Linked DNA regions of Homo sapiens: all the other regions are linked to region 4. Evidence: promoter capture Hi-C in 16 types of primary human blood cells and fetal thymus (Javierre and others, 2016). All regions are on one chromosome and are shown on one strand. Each heading gives the region's core, a stretch centred on a gene start or on the middle of the fragment in contact. The rest is flanking DNA. Distances are from core to core; before and after follow the strand shown. Region 1 has its middle 6.7 kb from the start of TCEANC. Region 2 holds the start of TRAPPC2 (trafficking protein particle complex subunit 2). Region 3 overlaps RAB9A (RAB9A, member RAS oncogene family). Region 4 holds the start of PIGA (phosphatidylinositol glycan anchor biosynthesis class A). Region 5 has its middle 14 kb from the start of RAB9A. Region 6 overlaps TRAPPC2 (trafficking protein particle complex subunit 2). Region 7 overlaps REPS2 (RALBP1 associated Eps domain containing 2).

The links. Contacts are between HindIII fragments. The CHiCAGO score rates a contact against its expected background, and 5 or more counts as called.
Region 1: a contact is called between a fragment that was not itself captured here and the fragment with the promoter of PIGA in region 4, in 4 of 17 cell types (naive CD8 T cells, total B cells, non-activated CD4 T cells and 1 more). The highest score is 8.7, in naive CD8 T cells.
Region 2: the fragment with the promoter of TRAPPC2 here is called in contact with the fragment with the promoter of PIGA in region 4 in 13 of 17 cell types (fetal thymus, non-activated CD4 T cells, naive B cells and 10 more); the score reaches 19.7 in fetal thymus.
Region 3: a fragment that was not itself captured here is called in contact with the fragment with the promoter of PIGA in region 4 in 5 of 17 cell types (non-activated CD4 T cells, naive CD4 T cells, neutrophils and 2 more); the score reaches 10.3 in non-activated CD4 T cells.
Region 5: a fragment that was not itself captured here is called in contact with the fragment with the promoter of PIGA in region 4 in 4 of 17 cell types (non-activated CD4 T cells, naive CD8 T cells, total B cells and 1 more); the score reaches 6.8 in non-activated CD4 T cells.
Region 6: a fragment that was not itself captured here is called in contact with the fragment with the promoter of PIGA in region 4 in 1 of 17 cell types (non-activated CD4 T cells); the score reaches 5.5 in non-activated CD4 T cells.
Region 7: a contact is called between a fragment that was not itself captured here and the fragment with the promoter of PIGA in region 4, in 7 of 17 cell types (non-activated CD4 T cells, fetal thymus, activated CD4 T cells and 4 more). The highest score is 9.4, in non-activated CD4 T cells.

The regions. Positions count from the first base shown.
Region 1 is chrX:13,644,866-13,648,104 of GRCh38, reverse strand. No RefSeq gene overlaps it. Among named protein-coding and RNA genes, the nearest start is that of TCEANC, 6.7 kb to the left of the region's middle. The HindIII fragment of the contact is 5,934 bases long and covers 1-3,239 here.
Region 2 is chrX:13,733,224-13,736,193 of GRCh38, reverse strand. It overlaps TRAPPC2 (trafficking protein particle complex subunit 2), which reads left to right and starts at 1,574. Exons shown (of 6, transcript NM_001011658.4): 1 at 1,574-1,669; 2 at 2,009-2,150. It overlaps OFD1 (OFD1 centriole and centriolar satellite protein), which reads right to left and starts at 1,446. Exons shown (of 23, transcript NM_003611.3): 1 at 1,111-1,446; 2 at 848-946. The coding sequence starts at 1,122. RefSeq lists enhancers at 533-1,104, 873-2,072. The HindIII fragment of the contact is 7,868 bases long and covers 1-2,970 here.
Region 3 is chrX:13,692,004-13,695,245 of GRCh38, reverse strand. All of the region lies in intron 1 of RAB9A (RAB9A, member RAS oncogene family), which reads right to left. Among named protein-coding and RNA genes, the nearest start is that of RAB9A, 4.5 kb to the right of the region's middle. RefSeq lists a silencer at 2,988-3,184. The HindIII fragment of the contact is 2,934 bases long and covers 426-3,242 here.
Region 4 is chrX:15,333,861-15,336,880 of GRCh38, reverse strand. PIGA (phosphatidylinositol glycan anchor biosynthesis class A) reads left to right here and starts at 1,358. Exons shown (of 6, transcript NM_002641.4): 1 at 1,358-1,380. RefSeq lists enhancers at 1,427-1,506, 1,557-1,606. The HindIII fragment of the contact is 3,001 bases long and covers 1-2,962 here.
Region 5 is chrX:13,673,534-13,676,814 of GRCh38, reverse strand. No RefSeq gene overlaps it. Among named protein-coding and RNA genes, the nearest start is that of RAB9A, 14 kb to the left of the region's middle. The HindIII fragment of the contact is 4,024 bases long and covers 1-3,281 here.
Region 6 is chrX:13,710,702-13,713,684 of GRCh38, reverse strand. It overlaps TRAPPC2 (trafficking protein particle complex subunit 2), which reads left to right. Exons shown (of 6, transcript NM_001011658.4): 6 at 1-1,440. Among named protein-coding and RNA genes, the nearest start is that of TRAPPC2, 22 kb to the left of the region's middle. The HindIII fragment of the contact is 202 bases long and covers 1,166-1,367 here.
Region 7 is chrX:16,947,813-16,950,770 of GRCh38, reverse strand. The region is part of intron 1 of REPS2 (RALBP1 associated Eps domain containing 2); the gene reads right to left. Among named protein-coding and RNA genes, the nearest start is that of REPS2, 2.6 kb to the right of the region's middle. The HindIII fragment of the contact is 2,316 bases long and covers 394-2,709 here.

The DNA.
Region 1 (3,239 bases), core at 734-3,233, 1.7 Mb after region 4:
TGGGGTTTTGTTCTGCCAGAGTGGCTTGTAACCAGGAGTAGTACAGTCTGGAGGTGATCCTGACATGTGGACTGCCCCATGAAATGCCTCACTTCATTTTGGTTTTTGAGTCTTTGTTTTAAAGGGAAGTCGTTTTGTAACAGCAGTTCATCGGCATAGTGAGACATAAGCATTAAACATTGAAGCGTTGGTCGGTGCTGCTTCCTTTATCTTTCGTTCTTGCACCGCGTGGCCTCATGACTCATTCTCATGGACTGACACTATACACACCACCCACAGCTGTCCTTTCATGATATGACCTGGCATGCTGCCAGGAGGGCCTATTTATCAACAGTGACAATATAAAGGACAGCCATGTTCTCTTCTTAGTCTTCAGTGGGAGACACATTTGGCCAGAAGTATACCGTTCTGATTTACAGTGCCCAAGAGAAGCGCTTTGCCATTTCAGCCTCATTTTCTCACAAAAACCTAGTACATGGAGTTGCTGCACTATTTGGCTCATATAATAATGTTTTTTTTAAAAAAAATTTTAGTCATTTATTTTTGAGACAGAGTCTCACTCTGTCACCCAGGCTGGAGTGCAGTGGCGTGATCTTGGCTCACCGCAACCTCTGCCTCCTGGGTTCAAGCAATTCTCCTGCCTCAGCCTCTCGAGTAGCTGGGATTACAGGCAGGTGCCACCACACCAGGCTGATTTTTTTGGTATTTTTAGTAGAGATAGGGTTTCACCATGTTGGCCAGGCTGGTCTGGAACTCCTGATCTCAAGTGATCCACCTGCCTCGGCCTCCCAAAGTGCTGGGATTACAGGCGTGAGCCACTGTGCCTGGCAATAATGTTTATATTAGTTGTTCTTCATTTCAAACCTTGACTCAGACCCCACCTAGGTTTCTGGTTGCTGAAGAGAATGAAGTTGTCAACTCTTTTGTCGTTATGAGAGTAGATCTATTACACTGGTATGTGGCCTGGGATAATTACATGTACTCGATCTCAGATTTGCATGATGGGGTTCATTCACATGGTGGGCTTTGGTGAGTTTGGACCACCCAGCTTCAGCACACCTTCCAAACAGCCAATCAGGTGCCTATTCTGCCCTAGCCAGGTGGCAGCCAGATGACCCCAGCTGGCCCGATTGCACATCCTCCCTGGAATGTGAATTTTAAGCAGAATGATGTGGAGTCTAAACATGGTGAAAGATCATTAAGATGAGGGTGGTGTCCTTATGAGACCATTCCTCCAATGGCTCCTTTCCCACAGTTCTGCTTCTAGCCCAGCGGCCCATTTCCAAAGCTGGCTGGCTGGTCTCTCCCTCCACCTGTACATTCCTGCTATCCTTACTATAACTTCCCTCTGCTGGGTCTGTTTTGGTGGCTTGCTAACAGTAAACACTAACTGACACAGCCTGTCTTAATATGGCTGTGTGATTTGAGGGACATCAGAAGAGAACCCCTGACCTTACCATGGTGCTAGAATTCCTTTCTTACTCATTCCTTTGGATGAAGACATTGAAAGCTGCTATTATAAAACAGCAACTATTACTTAGGAAAGGTTACACTTGAAGCTGTTTATTTGCTATGCCTGAGTTATATTGTAAGGATCGTCTCCCTTGTCAGAGACCAATGGAATGGGACATAGGATAAGTAAATGTTGATGGGGAGAATTGGGAGGGAATGAAAGGTCTGCAAGATTGGATTCTTCGAGATCTTAAGGGTGACTGAATTGGAAGGTTCTGGGTACCCAGAAAGAAGCATGAGTTCATAAAACACCAGGGAGGAGAAGAAATGGAGCAAAGAGGGAGTAGGAGGAGATCCTGGAAACAGCTCTGCTGTTTGCCTGGTGGCAGCCACACACATGCAGTCACAAGGGGGCACTGCTGGAACTCTGAGAGAAGACTCCAAAAAACTGATGCAAGTGGAAAGCCGTTCACATTCATCAGGAGAGCTGGGTGAGGATAGCCTGGACTAATCCTAGGAGGAAAAAGACTTTTAAAAGAAGTAACAGGGATAGAAAAGGGAGACGTAGAAACTTCCATCATTGTCCAGAAAGACTAATAGATGTGGGGCAGGTGAGAGTTCCAGGCTCTTGAGCAGCAGGAATATTTCCTCAAACTTCAGCCCCTGGGCCCGTTGAACTTCCTCTCCAGATTCCCATGCCATTCACCTCCAGCAGCCTGGATGGCAGGCCAGTGAACACCCACAACAAAAGTCATCCGTGGCTGGATTATACCTGAGTCTGTGTAGCTTCAGCCACAACCTACCTGGCGCTGAGAGCTGAATTCACTCTAGGTGTCCCGAGTCATTCAGCACAATGTCAGACAGAAGAGGTTCATCTTAAGGGGTAGGGGGAGTAATACTTTTATTTTTGAAAGAAGTTCTTACTGAAGTATGACACATATATAGAAAAGTCAGTGTACAAATCGTAAGTGTACTGCTTGTTAATTTTCACAGTGAACATGTCCATTCAAAAGGCACCATGAAGCAGAATTACCAGCCCCCCAGAAATTCTCCCCTTGTGTTCCCTTCCAGCATCCCGCCCCCACCACGGGTAAAAGCATAAACAGAATCCCAACTTTACCGCTATAGATTAATTTTGCCTGATTTTGAAACTTAAGTAAATGGAAGTGTACAGTATGTACTTTCTGGCTTCTTTTGATCAATTACATATTTTTGAAATTTGTCTGTGTTGCTGTGGGCAGCGTTAAGCTATTCATTCTCATGTCTTCATAGTCCTTTATTGAATGAATACACTACAGTGCATCCATTCTAACAATGGACATTATGGATATTTGGGTTGTTCCACTGGGACTAATACAAATAGTGCTACTATTCATTTCTATTAGGTATATACCTAGCAGTGGAATTCTGGGTTGGTAATGCTATTTTTGGTCATAAATGATGACCAAAAATTTTAACCATAAATTGACAATGCCAAGTCTCTTGTATGATTTGTGTACCTGAAAAAGGCAATTTCAAATGTGTTTTGAGCAACATTGTCATTAAAATAAATATATAGGCCGTCAAAGAAATTATTGAGAAAGAAAGGGTAATTAGCTCTTACCTAATGACATTCAGCACTCTTAGTGGCCACAGAGTGGAGGAAACCAAACCAAACAAACAAATAAGACAACATAGAAATGTAAAACAATTTATATGACACTACCAAATTGATTAAAGATATACACAAGATAATTATTTTGGTCAAAAATATGCATATGTAACCCCTCTATCTTATGCATATGTAA
Region 2 (2,970 bases), core at 325-2,824, 1.6 Mb after region 4:
ACTTCCCTAGAAGCCCATTTCAGCAGCTTACGATTGGGATATTAAGTATAGGAAAAAATTCTGCCACTTCATCACACCTCTGTGGACTGTTGGAGAATATAACCAAAATATTCAACAACAGGGGACTGCTATATACATTACAAAAATATCCAAAGATAAGCCTGTTGCCACTGAAAATGAAGATTTCAAAAAACTTTTAAGGAAACAGGGAAATGCTCACCATATAATTTAAATTAAAAAAGGATACATACACAGGATATAGCTACATATTTTAAACGTAAAATATGCTTTTGAAATGCATATTTCAATGAAAACACGTTGAGCTAATCCTACTCCTGGCTGTTAATCCAAATATAAAGCATACTAATAGGTATTTTCTGCCCAAACTAAACATTCATACATTTCAATATAGTTTAAAGATAAAATTTTTCATTTCCCAAACTATTATTAAGCAGTACACTAGTATTTTCTATATGGTGTCAATGTCCTTCATCCAAATGTATTACAAACCCACTTATTAATTTAGGAACCTATAAGCCATATTTATAAAACAAGCCTAATCTTACTGTGTTCATTATACAAATATTTCCTTCTCCTATCTTATTGTCAGTTCAATTAATTATTTGAATATGCTCCTTTAAGACGACTCAAACTCAACATTTTCTCAAACATTTTCAAGAGACTGTAATGTTTCAGGATACAGAGTTATTCGGGAATATAAAAATGTAATTCACCAATACAATCTATGTATCATACGATTATTAAAACCTAAACCTTGATTGAATTTGAACTACCTGTTACAGGTTACACTTGTAAAAGCTGACACAGATACGCCTAAATCCGATACCTTGAGTGTATCCAGTATACCCCGATCCTTAAACGTCTGGTATAGCTTTTTGCGCAGTTCATCTTGACTCAACACATCAGCCACGGTAAACATGTTGGACTAAAAGACAAAATGGTTATAGGTTACCTGCGGGGCAGAGGGAACGTGAACGTCTGAAAACAGACCAGTGGCCTCCGGGGAAGCCATAAGAGGCCTAGCGGCGAAAGTTTAACGAACACAAAACAAGACTTTATTTCCGCCCGAGAAGGGGCAGGTGTGTCTACCTGCGCCATCATCAGGCGTCAGCTCCCTCCGGAGCCCGCCTCGCTCGCCCCGCCGCGGCCCGAGTTTAGTGCCCAGCCCGGGCGGTGGGGCCAAGACGAGGGGGAATCCCTGCCCTCAGAACCCTGCCTCTGTCCCGAGGGTTCGGGAGGAACAAAGGTGCTGAACGTTCTCTGCCTCGCACTCCCAACTAGGTTTTCTAGCAAACACGCGAGCTTCCTTTCTTCGCGGTTCTGAGGCAAGGGCGAGGACCCAGGCACGACTCAAAGGCGGCTGGAGGGCGGGGACCCAGACACTAGGGACTGAAGGCAGCGAGGCAGGACCGCCTCACAGCCAGTCCGGCAACTTCCGGAAACCTGCTAAATATAGCCTTCCCGAGCTGAAGAGCTACGGCGCATGAGCTTGGTTGCCCAGCACCGGCCGGAAGCTCCGCCTACGTATCGCGAGAGCACATCCCAGGGTATCGCGAGAACTGCTTCGGCGTTCTGGCTACAGGTTCGGGGCGCGGGTCTCTTCCGCGGAAACTGACATTGCGTTTCCGTTGTCGGCCTCCCACTGCAGGTAGGGAATGGAGCAAGTGCGGCGGGGGGCGGGTGTTTTGAGTCCCTGGAGGACTTCGTAGCCCCTGCGTGACGCGGATGTTGGTCCTGTACCTCCACCCCTCCCCGGGGTGGCCGGGCCGGACCTGCCAGCCCTCCGCTGGCTCATCCGCGCAGCCCTTCCACCTGCAGACGTCCGCCCTCTCGGGGGCTGTGGTTTCGCGGTTCACTGGGTCATTCAGCTAACCCAGGGTTTCTTAACGGCTGCACTGTTGCCTTTTGGAGCCGGAAGATTCTTTGTTTTGGGAGGCTGTCCTGTGCATTGTAGGTTTAGCTGTATCCTTGCTCTCTATTTTGTCAGTATCACCTTCTCCCCCAAGTGTGACAACCAAAGATGTCTCCAGATATTGCCAGATGTCCTCTTGGAAGCAAGATCGCTCCGGGTTGAGATCCACAGAGCTAAACGTTTTAGAGTACCAACCATTGTGTGCTGTGAGGTAAAGGTGAGCCAGTCCTCATGATGCTTAAATGTAATTAGAAAGGAAAGGAACCAAACCTCTCAGAAGCGATAATGAAAATGTTACAGCCAGAGAATTGAACAAGAACTAAGATACATTGTAGACTGGATAAAGAGTTTAAAGGGGAGGTGGTTGAAGATGGAAGTGATCCAGATCATCTCTGTGGAAAAAGTGTGTCTTTATCGGGGCCTTGATGGGTAGGATTCGGGTGGTGAGCAAAAAGGAGAACATCACAGGAAGGGGAAAAATGAGCAAAGGAATCATTAAAAGAAAAAAAAAAGCCACGACCTTCTTGGGAGCAGTGAGGAATCTAGCCTGACTCCAGAGTTGTGTGCTGGGAATATAAGCCTTATATGGTATCTAAGTCCTGTGAGGACAGAATTGGATGTCAGCTTTGTGTACAGCATTGAAGATGAGTACGATGAGTTTTGATCTCTGGCTGTGAAAAACTTAAAGTATTTAAGAGGCAGTAAGAGTGACAGGACTTCATAGGAGGTGGAGAACCTGTAAGTTTTTGTTGGAAACAATGGAAAAGGAGGAGAGGCTTAGTTGGATTTTAAAGGATGGGTAGTGGTTGCAGACAGAATAAAGGAGAACATTCCAGGCATGAAGAGAGAAATGATAGTAGCTCTGAACTCGATATAGTCAAAGTGAATTTGGGAGAAAAAATAAGTAAACGAGTCAACGCTAGCAGAGGTGGAACAATAGGGCTGAGAAAAGACACGTGGAGCAATGTGGGAATCTTGAATACTAGTACATGATCCTGTAGCTGAGATGCATCAAAGGCTTTTGAGTGGAATGATGA
Region 3 (3,242 bases), core at 643-3,142, 1.6 Mb after region 4:
TGGAAAGCAAATGGTCCGGGAGTGACAGAGTGAAGAGACAATGAAACCTAATGCGGAAAGCAGCAGCCAACAATGAGAAAGCTGATTCCCACCAGAGAACTGGAAAAGAACTGAACAGCACACGGGCACTTCTCGAGACTTCTCCAGACAGGCCGGGTCCGGAGGCTCGAGGGGTCCCTGAAAGGCTGTAGATTCCATGACCCACATCCCTGTGCTACCCTAGCAGACCCACTTCCTAAGGAATTGCACCCAGCAGAAAATGGAGAGAAAGCACAAAGGAAAGTGGAGCTGGAGGGACGATTTGCACAGGAAACCTGAACTGCAGTCTCTTTCCTGTCTGTCCCTCCCCTCAGCTTAGCAACTAAAAGGGTAGCATCCCAAAACTGCAAAGCTCTGGGGGAAATGAGGGGCCCAAGGGAAAAGCTTACAGATACTGGAAGGGGGGATGGAGAATTAAAAACGGACTTTGATGCCTTTTCTCCTCACCACTATACCTTGTAGTCCATAAACTAGAGCCAATAATACCAACTTCTAATCCTGAGGTTCCCAAACTGCATGCTGAGGTGCCCCAAAGCATCACGGCAAATTCACAAGGGCAGGGTGGGCTATTTTAAATTTCTGAGGGAAACATAGATACTTGACATTTGTAGGGCACCCCACTGGAGGGGAGTTAATTAGATTGCACTGCATTCCTTTCGATGACATCATATCTTCATGAAGCTAGGTTTTCCAGGACTGCTGTGATAAAAATCAAGTACTGGGCACAAATTAAAGTGGATTATGAGGGTGGCAACTGTTTGCTCCCAAACAACTATTTTTAAATGTTATTTAAGAATACTAGCACTCATTCCAAAGAATGTTCTGCATTCACCAATGGGTAGTCCTCAGGCAGTTCTAATCTGACTTCCAACCACATTATGTATGTATTTCCAGGTATATACATCTGATCAAATACACAGGTGTGAAACTGCACAGACCAGAGCAGTCACCTAGCTGCATAAACACTCCTATCTGTTAGAGTTCTGCACAGCAAGTTGTAGAAACAGAGGTCTGTAAGGCTTTTTTTTTTCCCAGGTTTTTCTAACTCTGAGAACATAGACAGTCTTATGGGCACTAACCTTTTGGAAATTACCTTAGCTTCTGTACCCAAAAATCTAATCCAATTCACAGGAACTTGAAATTAAAATACAGTAGTCAGTTCAACTCCTTTATACTGTTTTGCTCTCTGTCACACTTGAATAAAGAATGTGGCAATGAAATGAATGTGTCCAGTTGTTCTATAGTGTTTCTCCATCCCCTGTCAAACAACAGAATATGTTTGTACGAGTCAGGCCTAAGACAAAAGTGGAGTCTGTGTCCACAGACTCCCAGAGAACTCCTGGAGAATGCAATGAGCTGGCTTCCATGCAGCCAGAATGTGAAGCCTGAACAGCCTGTTTCACTTCTCCATTTTTTTTCCAAAATACACACCCAGTCTCTCTCCACCTCAGGCAGATCTAGCTGTTACCTTACATTCATTTACACCTAGTCATCCTCACTGTATTCATAATAAGCAACATAATAACAACGCCTGAACTCACCATGGTCAAAAATTAACAAAAGGATTTGAAAAATCCAGAATGTGGAAATACCCAGAGCACACAGCTTCACAACATGCACAGTACCAAGAGTCATGGTGAGAAACAGAGATTTCTCCTCCAAGTTATCTAACTAGCCCTGGCACCCCTGGGCTCTCTGGCAACACGGCCTGGGACCGCCTCCGACCTCCCTCCCCTCTGCCTACACACCTAGGTGGCTCCACGTCTCCTCCCTCAGGCATCCTCGCCTTCCAATTGCATCATAGCTTTCCACCAAACTCCCTGAAACATTTTTTGAGTTCACCCTCACTCCTCTACAAAAAAGTCCTTAATAAATGTTCTCTGTTGATGGCCTACTTAGTCACAAATCCTATTCTCTTATGCTTGGTTCTGACTGAAGAGTCTATTATCTATACACCTTTCAAGTTAGATGCGTTGCCCAAACACACACACACTTCCATTTGGCTTACTTCCTCCTCCTGCTGCTTAACACATTGCCTGGGCAGAACTACTTGGAAGCTAATAATTTGCTGCCTCTACTTTGTGACATATAATCTCCTAGAGATTATGAAGCACAGCCATCTCATTTTACCCAGAAGGAAATGTGGTGACCTAAGTTGGCTGGAGGAGCAAGCCAATTAATGATCAAACAAGACAACTCTAGCACCAATTTATCTCGACCTTTCCCAGAATAAAACACGTCACTTTTGTTAGATTCCATGTGTATGCACTAGCAATCATTTTGAGGTGTGTAACTCAACATCCTCCCTACCCCACAGCAGACAACTCCTGATAAGAGGCAGAGAAATCTATTCATCAGCAAAGAACGTGCTGTGCATTGGCATGAGTCAAAAACCAAAGCTACCGACAAAAAGATGCCATGTTGATTGCGTGAATAACACTCAGTGATGCCTAAAAAGAGATGCGATCCTTTTTGACTGCTCCAGTCAACCACTCCCTCCCAAAGTTCACCTAACAGTTAATACTGCCACCAGAATGAAGCAGTACATATTTTGAAAGGCCTGATCTTAGACAGGCATGAAAAAGAGACCAGAAAACACCAGAAAGTTATGGAAAAGCCATTAAAAAATTCATCATTTCTTTCTCGATTCCAGTGATAAAATGCAGGCATAACTATTTGTCTGGTGAGGTGAAATTTAAGGATGAATTTTATGCTCAACAAGAATGGCTTCTCAATTTGATTCTTGTAAATATTCACACGTGGTTAACCGTACAAAACTATAACACACACATCAAGTTTTCCCCATTTTATTTAAGTCTGCCCACAGTAAACACCATGACACAGGTACTTCTGTGCCGAGTGTGGAGTTGTTTTCTTTAATTATTGTTATTTTTTTAGCGACAAGGTCTCACTCTATCGCCCAGGCTGGAATGCAGTGGTGTGATCATGACTCACTGCAGCCTTGAACTCCAGGGCTCAAGTCGTCCTTCTGCCTCAGCCTCCAGAGTAGCTGGGACATGCACCACCACACTGAGCTAGGCTAATTTTTTTTTTAATTTATTTTTTGTAGAGACGGGGGTCTCACTATGTTGCCCAGGCTGGTCTCAAACTTCTGGGCTCAAGTGATCCTCCTGTGTGGGTCTCCCAAAGCGCTGAGATTACAGGCATGAGCCACCACACTCAGCCTGTTTTGCTTTTTTTTC
Region 4 (3,020 bases), core at 109-2,608:
GATGCTTCATCAATATTAACACAGGGCAAAGTATCGATTGCTACTCTAGTCTTACTCATCAACTCATTAATTCGCTTCAAATCTCACAACTAAAATGCTCTTTCAATGATGTTATTGCACTGTAATTTGTATAAGGTACACTCCACGAAATACTGTCAATACATTTTATTGTGAGCATCTAATATGTGTCAGGGAGTGTGCTGACATTGGGTAAAGAAATTCATGTATTAAACTAAAACTTCCTCAACATCCATTACCAAGAACAGATCCTGCCTCAGTTTACTATCTGGCAGGGAAGGCAGACATTTAACAAGCAAATACAATTTCCGTTTTCAGAAAGAAGTCCATGTGAGATCTCAAGAGACAAGTAATCAAGGATCAGGGTGAGGAGGGAGAATGCAATCAGGCAAACAACTTGAATATCATCTGATAAATGTTATACTTTGGCCAGCATGTGGCCAAAGTACTATTAAAATTAAAAAGTGAGAGTATTTCATTCTCTGGAGGCTTGGGGAAAGCATCAGAAAGGAGCAGACATTTTCAGGGATGAATAGGCTTACACTAGGCTTAATAAAATGGGTGCCAGTAACGGTGGCTGTGATGGTACTCAGAAAGGAATTTCTTCTCGAAAACGCACGTATGGCAGGGATGGGGGATTCCAAGTACCAGCTGTGACGCATGGATGACCGTCATACCACTCTCACTGATTCTTTAGCTTCCTAGTCAAGCACCATCGTAACTAGTTGAACCAGTCGAGTGGGAGTTGATATTTCAGATCAGACCTCGTATGTTTCCCTCAGAGTGTAGAATTGCCATATAAATAACAGGATGTCTAGTTAAATTTACATGTCCGATAAAAAACGAATGTGTAGTGAAGTCCCCAATATTTGGTACATGCTTGTATTAAACATCATTTGTGCTTTATCTGAAATTAAAACTTCATAGTTTCATCTGTTTTGACTTTTTGTGTATTTTTATTTATTTATCTGGCAAACGTCCCAGAGCGGTAAGAACCGGCACGGTTTTGCCGTGGCACAGCTGATTACAAACAAAAAGTCTCTCCAATCAGAAGCAAGCGCGCAGAGAACTGGCGTCCGGAATAGAGACGCTGTAACCAGGAAACCAGGGTGAGCACCCACCCTACCGTCGGCCGCTTCTAGGAGACGGGCGCAGGCGCGCGCTGACGTTACATCTCGCGCTTAAGGGTGGGGACGACAGAGCGTCTCTCTCGGACGTGACCTCAGCGCCTCTTTGTGATTGGCTGCCTCGGGGGCGCGGCCCTTGGGCGCGGACGCCCTAGATTGGTGCTGCGGAACAGCAGGGAGGGACTCCGGCTGCAGCCGCGGGAGGTCCGGACACTGGCGGCCATGGAACTCACCGGTGAGTGCGCGTCGCGCCGCCCCTCTCCAGCGCTCTGGGCCGCTTTCGGATGGGGCTGTTCTGCGCGCGTGGGATCGTGGCGGGTGGTGGAGGGGGTGAAACCGACCCGGTTCGAAGCCCGGAAGTTGGGTCGGAGGGTCTCCAGAGTAGGTTGGGGCTGAGGGTGCGTTTAGGGCGGACGCGCTGGGTTCCTTGGCTCAGGCGGGTGGGTCGAGGGACTGGGGTCTCCGGAACCCCGGGCCTGAGACCAACGTCCACTCTTTGGTTGTTTTCTTTCTCTCTTTGGGCCTGGCCATCCCCGCCATGAACCCAGCGGGGTCGCTGTCTGAGCAGGGGTATCCCCTCCTTGGCCCGAGCGTTTCCCCAGCGACCTCTCAGGGAATCAGGGAATGAAGCTCAGACAGTGCCCAGGAATTGTCGGTGGAAGTACCATTCTCTTGACCCACAACTCCTGCCAGGTCTCCCTAAGGTTCTTCAGGAACCTCTACTGCTAATGATTGCCCAGGGCTCGTTGGTCGTGGTCGAGAATTTTACGGTAATGTCTTTGCCACTTTAAGTGGCTGGGTGGGAACCTTGGACAAATCACTCAACTTGTCTGGGTTCTCATTTGTAAAACGAGAGAGGTATTCACTAGAGCTCCAAGCCTCATTTCGGCTTTAAGAGCTAAGATTCTGCGATTGTGCAGCATAATGAACTTTTATGTCAAAGATGTTTGGACTGAAAACCTGGCGGAAGTGGGCAGACTCCTCACAGAACGTTGCAGGCTAATGACAACATTTTAAATGATATCATTTGGTTCATTACTCACTGTTTTTGCTATCGTTCATCTTTTAAAACTGGTAGAACTGGAAGTTCGGGTTTAGGTGACCACAGTAAGAAAATGTTAGTTAAGCCACCTAAAAGTACAAACTTGGGGAATTTCAATATTTGGTAATATTGAATCTTAATTAGTAAACTCAGTCAACAAACACTTCTGGGGTCTTTCCGAGAGTATATTTAAAATGTAGATGAGGCCGGGCACGGTGGCTCACACCTGTAATCCCAGCACTTTGGGAGGCCGAGGCTGGTGGATCACCTGAGGTCAGGGGTTCGAGACCAGCCTGGCCAACATGATGAAACCCCGTCTCTACTAAAAATACAAAAATTAGCTGGGCTTGTGGTGTGCGCCTGTAATTCCAGCTATTCAGGAGGCTGAAGTGGGAGAATCGCTTGAACTCGGGAGGCAGAGGCTGCAGTGAGACGAGATCGCTCCACTGCACACTAGCCTGGGCAACAGAGTGAGACTCCGTCTCAAAAAAAAAAAAAAAAAAAAAAAGTAGATGAATTTGTTGGAGAGACTAGACAGTTAAGCCTTTGCACATACAGTTAATTGGCATTTTCTGAGTTTGCAGGTGAAACCGGAAACTCAGAGCTTTAGGATGGCTTCTCATTGTATAGTTGTTTGTTTTCTGGAGCCTTGGAAATCTCATTTGTAAAGCTGAGGAAGATTTTGACTAGATATCCAAGATTCTTTTTAGCTTTAAGTGTCTAAGAATGTACAGTAGTACTAAATATTGAGTGGGCATTTCACATTAATAAAGCTTTAGGGGACCCCTGAGATAAACATTTCGCACTTTAAATTGAGAAAATGGTCCCAGATA
Region 5 (3,281 bases), core at 462-2,961, 1.7 Mb after region 4:
GAAGAGGGTGGAATAGAGAGTGGCTATTAACTGGTACTGGATTCCTTCTTGGGGTAATGAAAACATTCTGGAATTAGATAATGATGATAATCGCACAACTTTGTGAATATACTAAAAGCCACTGAATTATAACAAAAATAAATGCATATAAACTTTAAAAAACTCGTGAGTTACAAATAGTGTTTATGTATATGATTTGGGGAAAATTATTTTCAAAGAGTCACTTCTAGAATTACTAACATATAGCCAAGTACAGTCTGTAATGCATGCTAACAGACAACTAAGTCAACAACCACAAAATCACCAAACAATTTTAATAACCTTTTCAACTATATTCCTTAAGTACCTGCAGGGTCTTCCGGCAAGTAAAACAGTGAACAAATAGAATTTTTTTAATCTCCTTTTCTTTCTAACAATGCTATTGAACATTAAAACAGAAAATAACACACAAGAAAGGGAAGGATTATAAGACAATTGAACAATTAGCTTTATAATAGAGTTTGAGCATATATGGCCTAAGACTTTATAGTATATGTGAGGTTTACTCAAAGATACTACATACATGGAGAAGAAAAGCTCCAAAATGTTCTGGGGAAAAAAAATGCTCTCTCTTTTCCAATTGCCCATTCTTTCCACTCTCAAATTGTTTTGCCTGTCATAAACTACAATCACTCCCTCTGAGCTTGTTTTCAATCTTTTTTAAAAATTTTTTATTTATTTTTTATTTTTTTGAGATGGAGTCTCGCTCTGTCGCCCAGGCTGGAGTGCAGTGGCGCGGTCTCGGCTCACTGCAAGCTCCACCTCCCGGGTTCACGCCATTCTCCTGCCTCAGCCTCCCGAGTAGCTGGGACTACAGGCGCCTGCCACCACGCCTGGCTAATTTTTTGTATTTTTAGTAGAGACAGGGTTTCACCGTGTTAGTCAGTATTGTCTCAATCTCCTGACCTCATGATCTGCCCGCCTCGGCCTCCCAAAGTGCTGGGATTACAGGTGTGAGCCACCGTGCCCGGCCTAATCTTTTACCTAAATGTGCGTATGTGTTGATCTGTCATATTCCTGGCTCTTCCAAATTTCTTAGGTGCACTCATTCAACAAATATTTCTTGAGGGCACTCTGTGTGCCAGAACTATTCTAGGGGCTGGAGATAAGCTGTGAACCAAAAAGACAAAAATCTCTGACCCCGTGAGCAAGAGCAAGGCATTGTATTTCTTTCTTTCTCTTTCTTTCTTTTCTTTTTCTTTCTTTTCTTTCTTTCCTTTCTTTCCTTCCTTTCTTTCCTTTCTTTCCTTTCTTTCCTTTCTTTCCTTTCTTTCCTTTCTTTCTTTCTTTCTTTCTTTCTTTCTTTCTTTCTTTCTTTCTTTCTTTCTTTCCCTCTCTCTCTTTCTCTCTTTCTTTCTTTCTTTTTTTTGACATGGTCTTGCTCTGTCACCCAGACTGTAGTGCAGTGGCATGGTCTTGGCTCACTGCAACCTCCACCTCCCGGGTTCAAGCCATTCTCCGGGGCCTTGGGCTCCCAAGTAGCTGGGATTACAGGCACATGCCACCATGCCTGGCTAATTTTTGTATTTTTAGTAGAGACTGGGTTTCACCATGTTGGCCAGTCTGGTCTCAAACTCCTGACCTCAAGTGATCCACCCACCTCGGCCTCCAGTGCTGGGATTACAGGTGTGAGCCACCACGCCCAGCCAGGGCATTGTATTTCAATGGTGAATAAGCTCTATTAAGGCATGGTCAAGGACTTCATGTCTAAAACACCAAAAGCAATGGCAACAAAAGACAAAATTGACAAATGGGATCTAATTAAACTAAAGAGCTTCTGTACAGCAAAAGAAACTACCATCAGAGTGAACAGGCAACCTACAAAATTGGAGAAAATTTTTGCAACCTACTCATCTGACAAAGGGCTAATATCCAGAATCTACAATGAACTCAAACAAATTTACAAGAAAAAAACAAACAACACCATCAAAAAGTGGGCGGAGGACATGAACAGACACTTCTCAAAAGAAGACATTTATGCAGCCAAAAAACACATGAAAAAATGCTCATCATCACTGGCCATCAGAGAAATGCAAATCAAAACCACAATGAGATACCATCTCACACCAGTTAGAATGGCAATCATTAAAAAGTCAGGAAACAACAGGTGCTGGAGAGGATGTGGAGAAATAGGAACACTTTTACACTGTTGGTGGGACTGTAAACTAGTTCAACCATTGTGGAAGTCAGTGTGGCGATTCCTCAGGGATCTAGAACTAGAAATACCATTTGACCCAGCCATCCCATTACTGGGTATATACCCAAAGGACTATAAATCATGCTGCTTTAAAGACACATGCACACGTATGTTTATTGCGGCACTACTCACAATAGCAAAGACTTGGAACCAACCCAAATGTCCAACAATGATAGACTGGATTAAGAAAATGTGGCACATATACACCATGGAATACTATGCAGCCATAAAAAATGATGAGTTCATGTCCTTTGTAGGGACATGGATGAAATTGGAAATCATCATTCTCAGTAAACTATCGCAAGAACAAAAAACCAAACACCGCATATTCTCACTCATAGGTGGGAATTAAACAATGAGATCACATGGCCACAGGAAGGGGAACATCACACTCTGGGGACTGTTGTGGGGTGGGGGGAGGGGGGAGGGATAGCATTGGGAGATATACCTAATGCTAGATGACGAGTTAGTGGGTGCAGCGCACCAGCGTGGCACATGTATACATATGTAACTAACCTGCACAATGTGCACATGTACCCTAAAACTTAAAGTATAATAATAAAAGAAAAAAAAAATCAGAGGCCAGGCGTGGTGGTGGCTCACTCCTGTAATCCCAGCGCTTTGGGAGGCCAAGGCAGGTGAATCACGAGGTCAGGATATGGAGACCAGCCTGGCCAATATGGTGAAACCTCGTCTCTACTAAAAATACAAAAAATTAGCTGGGCGTAGTTGCAGGTGCCTGTAATCCCAGCTACTCAGGAGGCTGAGGCAGGAGAATTGCTTGAACCCGGAAGGCAGAGGTTGCAGTGAGCCGAGATCATACCACTGCACTCCAACCCAGCAGACAGAGTGAGACTCCATCTCAAAAAAAAAAAAGAAAGAAAAAAATCAGAAAGGGTGCTAGGGAATGTAGGAAGAGGCCAGGGAAAGCCTCACAGCCCCAGGTGACATTTGAGCTAGGGCTTGAGAGAGGTAAGTTAAGTCATTAGGAATCTGGGAGACTGGGTTCAGTTGTTCACGCCTGTAATCCCAACACTTTGGGAGG
Region 6 (2,983 bases), core at 17-2,516, 1.6 Mb after region 4:
GTGCACCACCACACCTGGCTAATTTTTGTATTTTTAGTAGAGACAGGGTTTCACCATATTGGTCAGGCTGGTCTTGAACTCCTGACCTCGTGATCCACCCACCTCAGGAAGTGCTGGGATTACAGGCGTGTGAGCCACCACGCCCGGCCATGAAATATTTTTACTTAAAAATTGGGAATAAGCTTTTTGGTTTTTTGTGGGTTTTTGTTTTTGTTTTTTGTTTTTTGTTTTTTTGAGATGGAGTCTTGCTCCTGTTGTGCAGGCTGGAGTGCAGTGGCACAGTCTTGGCTCACTGCAACCTCCACCTCCTGGGTTCAAGCAATTCTCCTTCTTCAGCCTCCCGAGTAGCTGGGATTACAGGCATGCACCACCACACCTGGCTAATTTTTGTGTTTTTAGTAGAGACGGGGTTTCGCTATTTTGGCCGGGCTGGTTTCAAACTCCTGACCTCAGTTGATCCACCCGCCTCAGCCTCCCAAAGTGCTAGGATTACAGGCATGAACCACCGTGCCCGGCCAGGAATAAGCTTTTGACTTACCCAATTCAGATAGGTTGATCTTTGGGGTTTTTTTTTTTTTTTTGAGATGGAGTTTCGCTCTGTTGTCCAGGCTGGAGTGCAATGGCAGTTGTTTCACCGTAACCTCTGCCTCCTGACTTCAAGCAATTCTCCTGCCTCAGCCTCCCAAAGTGCTGGGATTACAGGTGTGAGCCACCGTGCCCGGCCCAGATAGGTTGATCTTAATGTAACAACCCAAAAATAAATGTCATAGTCAAGATTTGGTAGATAAATTTAAAATTAAAATATTCTGCAGTTGGGAGTGAAATGTGATAGCACATACGTTGACATTATGCATTTAGAGATGTTATAAAAATGTATAGGCAGTATACACAGCACTACTCAAGAAGCCAAAGAAACACTTGTGCAGTGCTAAGTGTCACATGTCTGCTTCCACCAGAGGCTAGGAATAGTGATCCTGCTATAATGTGAGAACCCAAATCATGTTTATAAAATAGGACGCTGGGAGCAGTTGCAGGCCACAGTGAAGTGTGTTGCTTCTGTCACTTTATATTCTTATATTTCCTTTCCCTCAGACAGTAAACTGTTGATACTCGTACTTGTAAAAAATTGTAAGGCAATTTTTAGTATTGTTGTCAAAGAAAAGCTTGGATTACATTAACATTTGTATTCAGTCTTTTAGGTGATACACCAGAGGGGGCTGGGAATTGTCTCTTTGTTCCTATAAGTAGATCTTAATGTAAAATAGTAAATGTCCATTGAAAAGCAAGTAATACAGCCTGTGCTAATTGGGAGCACTTGAACAATTTTGTTCCATTCTGAGTAACTTTTGAGCAAGTAATTCTAAGCTTTGTCTTGTATCCTTGTGTGAAATTGCATAATTTTTACCCTATTTGATTTCTTAAATAAAGATGTTTGCTCAAGATCGTGGTAGTTTAATATCCATTTTTAAAGTGCTGCTTTCGTCCTATTTCTCCTATTGATAGTCTAGTCTGCAAACTAATATGATGTCTTCACCTGTTATAGAGCTCAGATTGACTCAAACTAGATGCCAGAGCTTTGGGAGCAGAAAAATTTACATACTCATCTAGAAATCTAGGAGTAATTTCAGCAAACGTGTATTTTTTTGTATATAGTTGGCCCCTCCCTCAATGAGCATATCATCCAGAGGGCTGTGATGCAGGGCAGCCAAGAGCAGCAGGGTGATTGATTGAGAGCAGGAAGACTTGGCTCAGCTGCACAACAGTGGTACCCTGAAAATAGCCTTTTCTCCAGGCTGGTGAAGGTGAGGTAGGCACTAGTAACACACTTGTGAGTATATTACTAAAGTTAAATGCCAAATTTCATGTGTGACTGAGTCTTCAAAGGAGCTGGAAGGGAAGTGGAGCATTGAGTGGGACCTCCAAGGTAGGCTGCACAGGAAAGCATTGCAGGTGTGAAGGTGTGAAGAGCACTTGGGCACATGGGTGGAACTGACAGCTGATTGATTGATAGATAGATAGGAGCTGATCATGAGGAAAGCTAAGCTGGCAAAGCTTGGATCTGGTAGGTGATGTTCCTTGAAGGTTCTGGAACACAAGAGCAATGGGGTGAAGTCAGTCTTAAAATCAGGCTCTCCTGAGCACATGTATGTTAGCACAAAGTTGGTTATCTGCTTTAGTGCTCCAAAAGTGATCCAGATAAAACGTACACCGAGTTTTGTCATCTTGCCATAGCCAGAAACTTACTAGGATGCTTCCTTTGGCATGGACATAGATCGTCTCAGTCTCTGCTCTGCCCATGCTATTACCCATGTGCTTTAATTTTTCAGTCACTTCAACACTTCCTGGTTGACAGTCCAGAGTTCCAGAAACCACTGACTCTCCAGACACCACCTTTCACTGGGTACCACACTGGTGTGTTTTTCTACTTAACAAACACTTCACTACTCTACAAGACACGGATATTGTGTGAGAACTTGCATGGTGGTGTCACAATATTAAAATGAAAAGTTTGTACAGAAATATAAAAAGGTTTTCTTCTAAGACAAGTAATAGTAGGAATGTTTTAACTTCAACTAGGAAACTTTCCCCAAGGGTGAAAAATAAAAACATTTAGTCCATTAATGAATTGTAATTTTGTATCTTCCACACAGCACATTGTAATTGTTACATCAGTTAACAAATGCAGGTTTGTCTGTTCTCCAGTTCAGTAGTTTGCTTTTTTTTTTTTTTTTTTTTTTTTTGAGGTGGAGTCTCACTGTCACCAGGCTGGAGTGCAGTGATGTGATCTCGGCTCACTGCAACCTCCACCTTCCGGGTTCAAGTGATTCTCCTGCGTCAGCCTTCCGAGAAGCTGGGACTACAGGCACGATGCCCAACTAATTTTTGTATTTTTAGTAGAGACCGGGTTCACCATGTTGTCAAGGATGGTGTCGACCTCTTGACCTCCAAAAGTGTTGGGATTGCAGGCGTGAGCCACCGCGCC
Region 7 (2,958 bases), core at 302-2,801, 1.6 Mb before region 4:
GGCTGACATTTTATTTTTGGATGTTATATTTCAAGTCTTTTCTCAACCAAATAAAAACTCTGAAGTGTAAAAACATTCACATGAGAACATAAGCTCCATGAAGACAGAGATTGTGTTGGATTCACTATTATAACCTCAGCACCTAGGACAGTACCTGACACACATCAGAAACTCATATACGTTTTCCACCTAGTGCTAGAATCCTGCTGTTAAAATAAGTCAGCAAAGGAAAATAAATACTCTGTAAAGAAACCAATGCATTGCTGATGGGAACGCAAAATGGTACAATCACTTTGGAAAGCAGTTTGGCAGTTTCTTATAAAACTAAATATACTCTCACCATACAATCTAGCAATCATGCCCCTTGCTATTTACCCAAATGAGTCAAAAGCTTATCTCCTGCATGTAACAAAAAAGGCTGCATACAGATGTTTATAACAGCTTTATCCATAATTGCCCAAACTTGGAAGCAACCAAGATATCCTTCAGTAGGTGAATAAATAAATTGTAGTACATGCAGACAATGGAATATTATTCAGCACTATAAAGAAATGAGCCACCAAACCATAAAAAGACATGAAGGAATTTTAAGTGCATAGTACTACATGAAAGAAGCCAAAGTGAAAAGCCTATATACTGTATGACTCCAACTATATGACATTCTAAAAAAGGCAAAACTATGGGGACAGTAAAAAAAAAAAAAAAATCAGTGATTGCCACATGTTAGTGGAGAGGGAGGGATGAATCAATAGAGCACAGATTTTTAGAGCAGTGAAACTATTCTGTATGATACTACAATGGTGGAACCGTCATTATACATTTGTCCAAACCCACAGAATGTACAACACCAAGAGTGAGCCCTAATATATAGACTTTGGGGAATAATGAGGTGTCAATGTAGGTTCATCAATTGTAAAAACTCTATTATTCTGATGTGGGACGTTGAGAGTAAGGAAAGCTACGGGTGTGTCGGGGCAGGGGATATATGGGTACTCTGCTAAATTTTGCTGTGAACCTAAAACTGCTCTGAAAAAAAAAAATAGTCTATTAAAAAATATGTTAAGGCCAGGCATGGTGGCTCACGCCTGTAATCCCAGCACTTTGGGAGGCTGAGGCGGGTGGATCACCTGAAGTCAGGAGTTCGAGACCAGCCTGGCCAACATGGCAAAACGCCGTCTCTACTAAAAATGCAAAAATTAGCCGGGAGAGGTGGCGTGCGCCTGTAGTCCCAGCTACTCAGGAGGCTGAGGCGGAAGAATCGCTTGAACCCGGGAGGCAGAGGTTGCAGTGAGCCAAGATCACGCCACCGCACTCCAGCCTGGGCAACAGAACGAGACTCCATCTCAAAAAATAAATAAATAAAAAATAAGTATTTTTATAGACCATTTACTTGTGGTAAGAATGCAAGATTCTCACTCTTCCTGGAACATTATTATGGTAATCTTAATTGTATGCTTATTAAGAGGAAAACCTGGTTGTTACCATAGAAAATATCAGGACTGGTTAGTGCCTCCAAGATTTGAGCAGTTATACCTGTTGGGGCACTTAAATCTCAACTTACAGGTTCCTGTTTAACAGAGAAAGGGTAAAAACATCTACGTTTGTTTTAAAGAATGGCTAATACACTGATGGGGTAATGCAAATTAAAGTGGATGGAGCATACACACACCACCACCACCACCACCACCACCACCACCACCAAAGTGATGGGTGAAAATTAGGTGTCTGCTGGTTGCTGACTTTGTTTGACTCTCTTAGGATCACATGTCCAGGATGCCTTCAATGTTCATTTTCACCTGTACCAAGAATATTGAGTTATGGTAATTTTGTTGGATTAAAGGTGGATGATGTGTTTTGCTTTGCTAGGCTGAATAAGGGAGCTTCGAGCTCTGAGAGATTTACTCCAAGCAATCTCGCAGGGATGTCCCCTTTTGCCAGTATCTGAAGCAGTCTTTTGCAAGCAGATTTCAACTGGACATCAAAAATATAATCTCATTCACGCACAGCCACTGTGCCTTGGGTCCTTTTAAAACTATATGTACCTCAAGAAAGCATGGGTTCTAACATCAGGAAATCCTTCTTCCCAATTCCTAAAGAGGCATCAACCAACATATTCAGATTTACTATGCCCACCTCCTCTTATCCGATGCATTACTGACAACAAAATAAGCCTTAATAGGTACCCAGCTGTCACTTACTTGCTGCATAGCCTCAGTCAATTATTCCTCTTTCAGCTGGGAAGCAGCTACAGCACTGAATAAATGTATTATGCTCGGGACTATTCTGAGGGCCTCATGTAATAGCCACGGTTTGTGTTTTAAGACACTGACTTTCTCTTTACCTGATCCAGCTCAACTACTCATCAGCAATGGCAGAACTGTCTACATATCAAGGACTTCTTTAGGGATAAACAGCCATGCTAAGTTCTGTGAATACTAGTTACAGTTTCAGAAATCCCAAATTCAAAAGGGTGAAAGATTACAAAGTGTCTAAAGTTATGCTCACAAACATATAGCAGTAAAAACACTCCAGCAGTATAAAACGCAGTCTTAAGCAATTTTTTTAAAAATACGTATGAACACAATGACATTGCAAGTGAACCATAAAACCCTCAGTTCTCCTTTGAAACTAGATTTTAAAATACCACTCGCCACTCTAAATATTCCATTGGTGTTAATAACATTCATACTATTGCTTTTAGGAAAAGCTTCATTTCACGTTTTGAACCTGATATTAACAGTCTTATCACCATGAAGTGCTGGTGACATGAAATGACAGACAAAGGCTTATCAAGTAGTCTTTCTCCAAGCTCCAAGGAAAGCACAAAACAAAAACAGCGTCTGGTATGTATCATCCCCTAGTACTTTTCCAAGTATAGAACAGCCAAAAGGTGGTAGCTATGACATCCCTTACCTTTCAATTCTATTTCAAGTCCAAGTAATGATAGATGGGAAACTA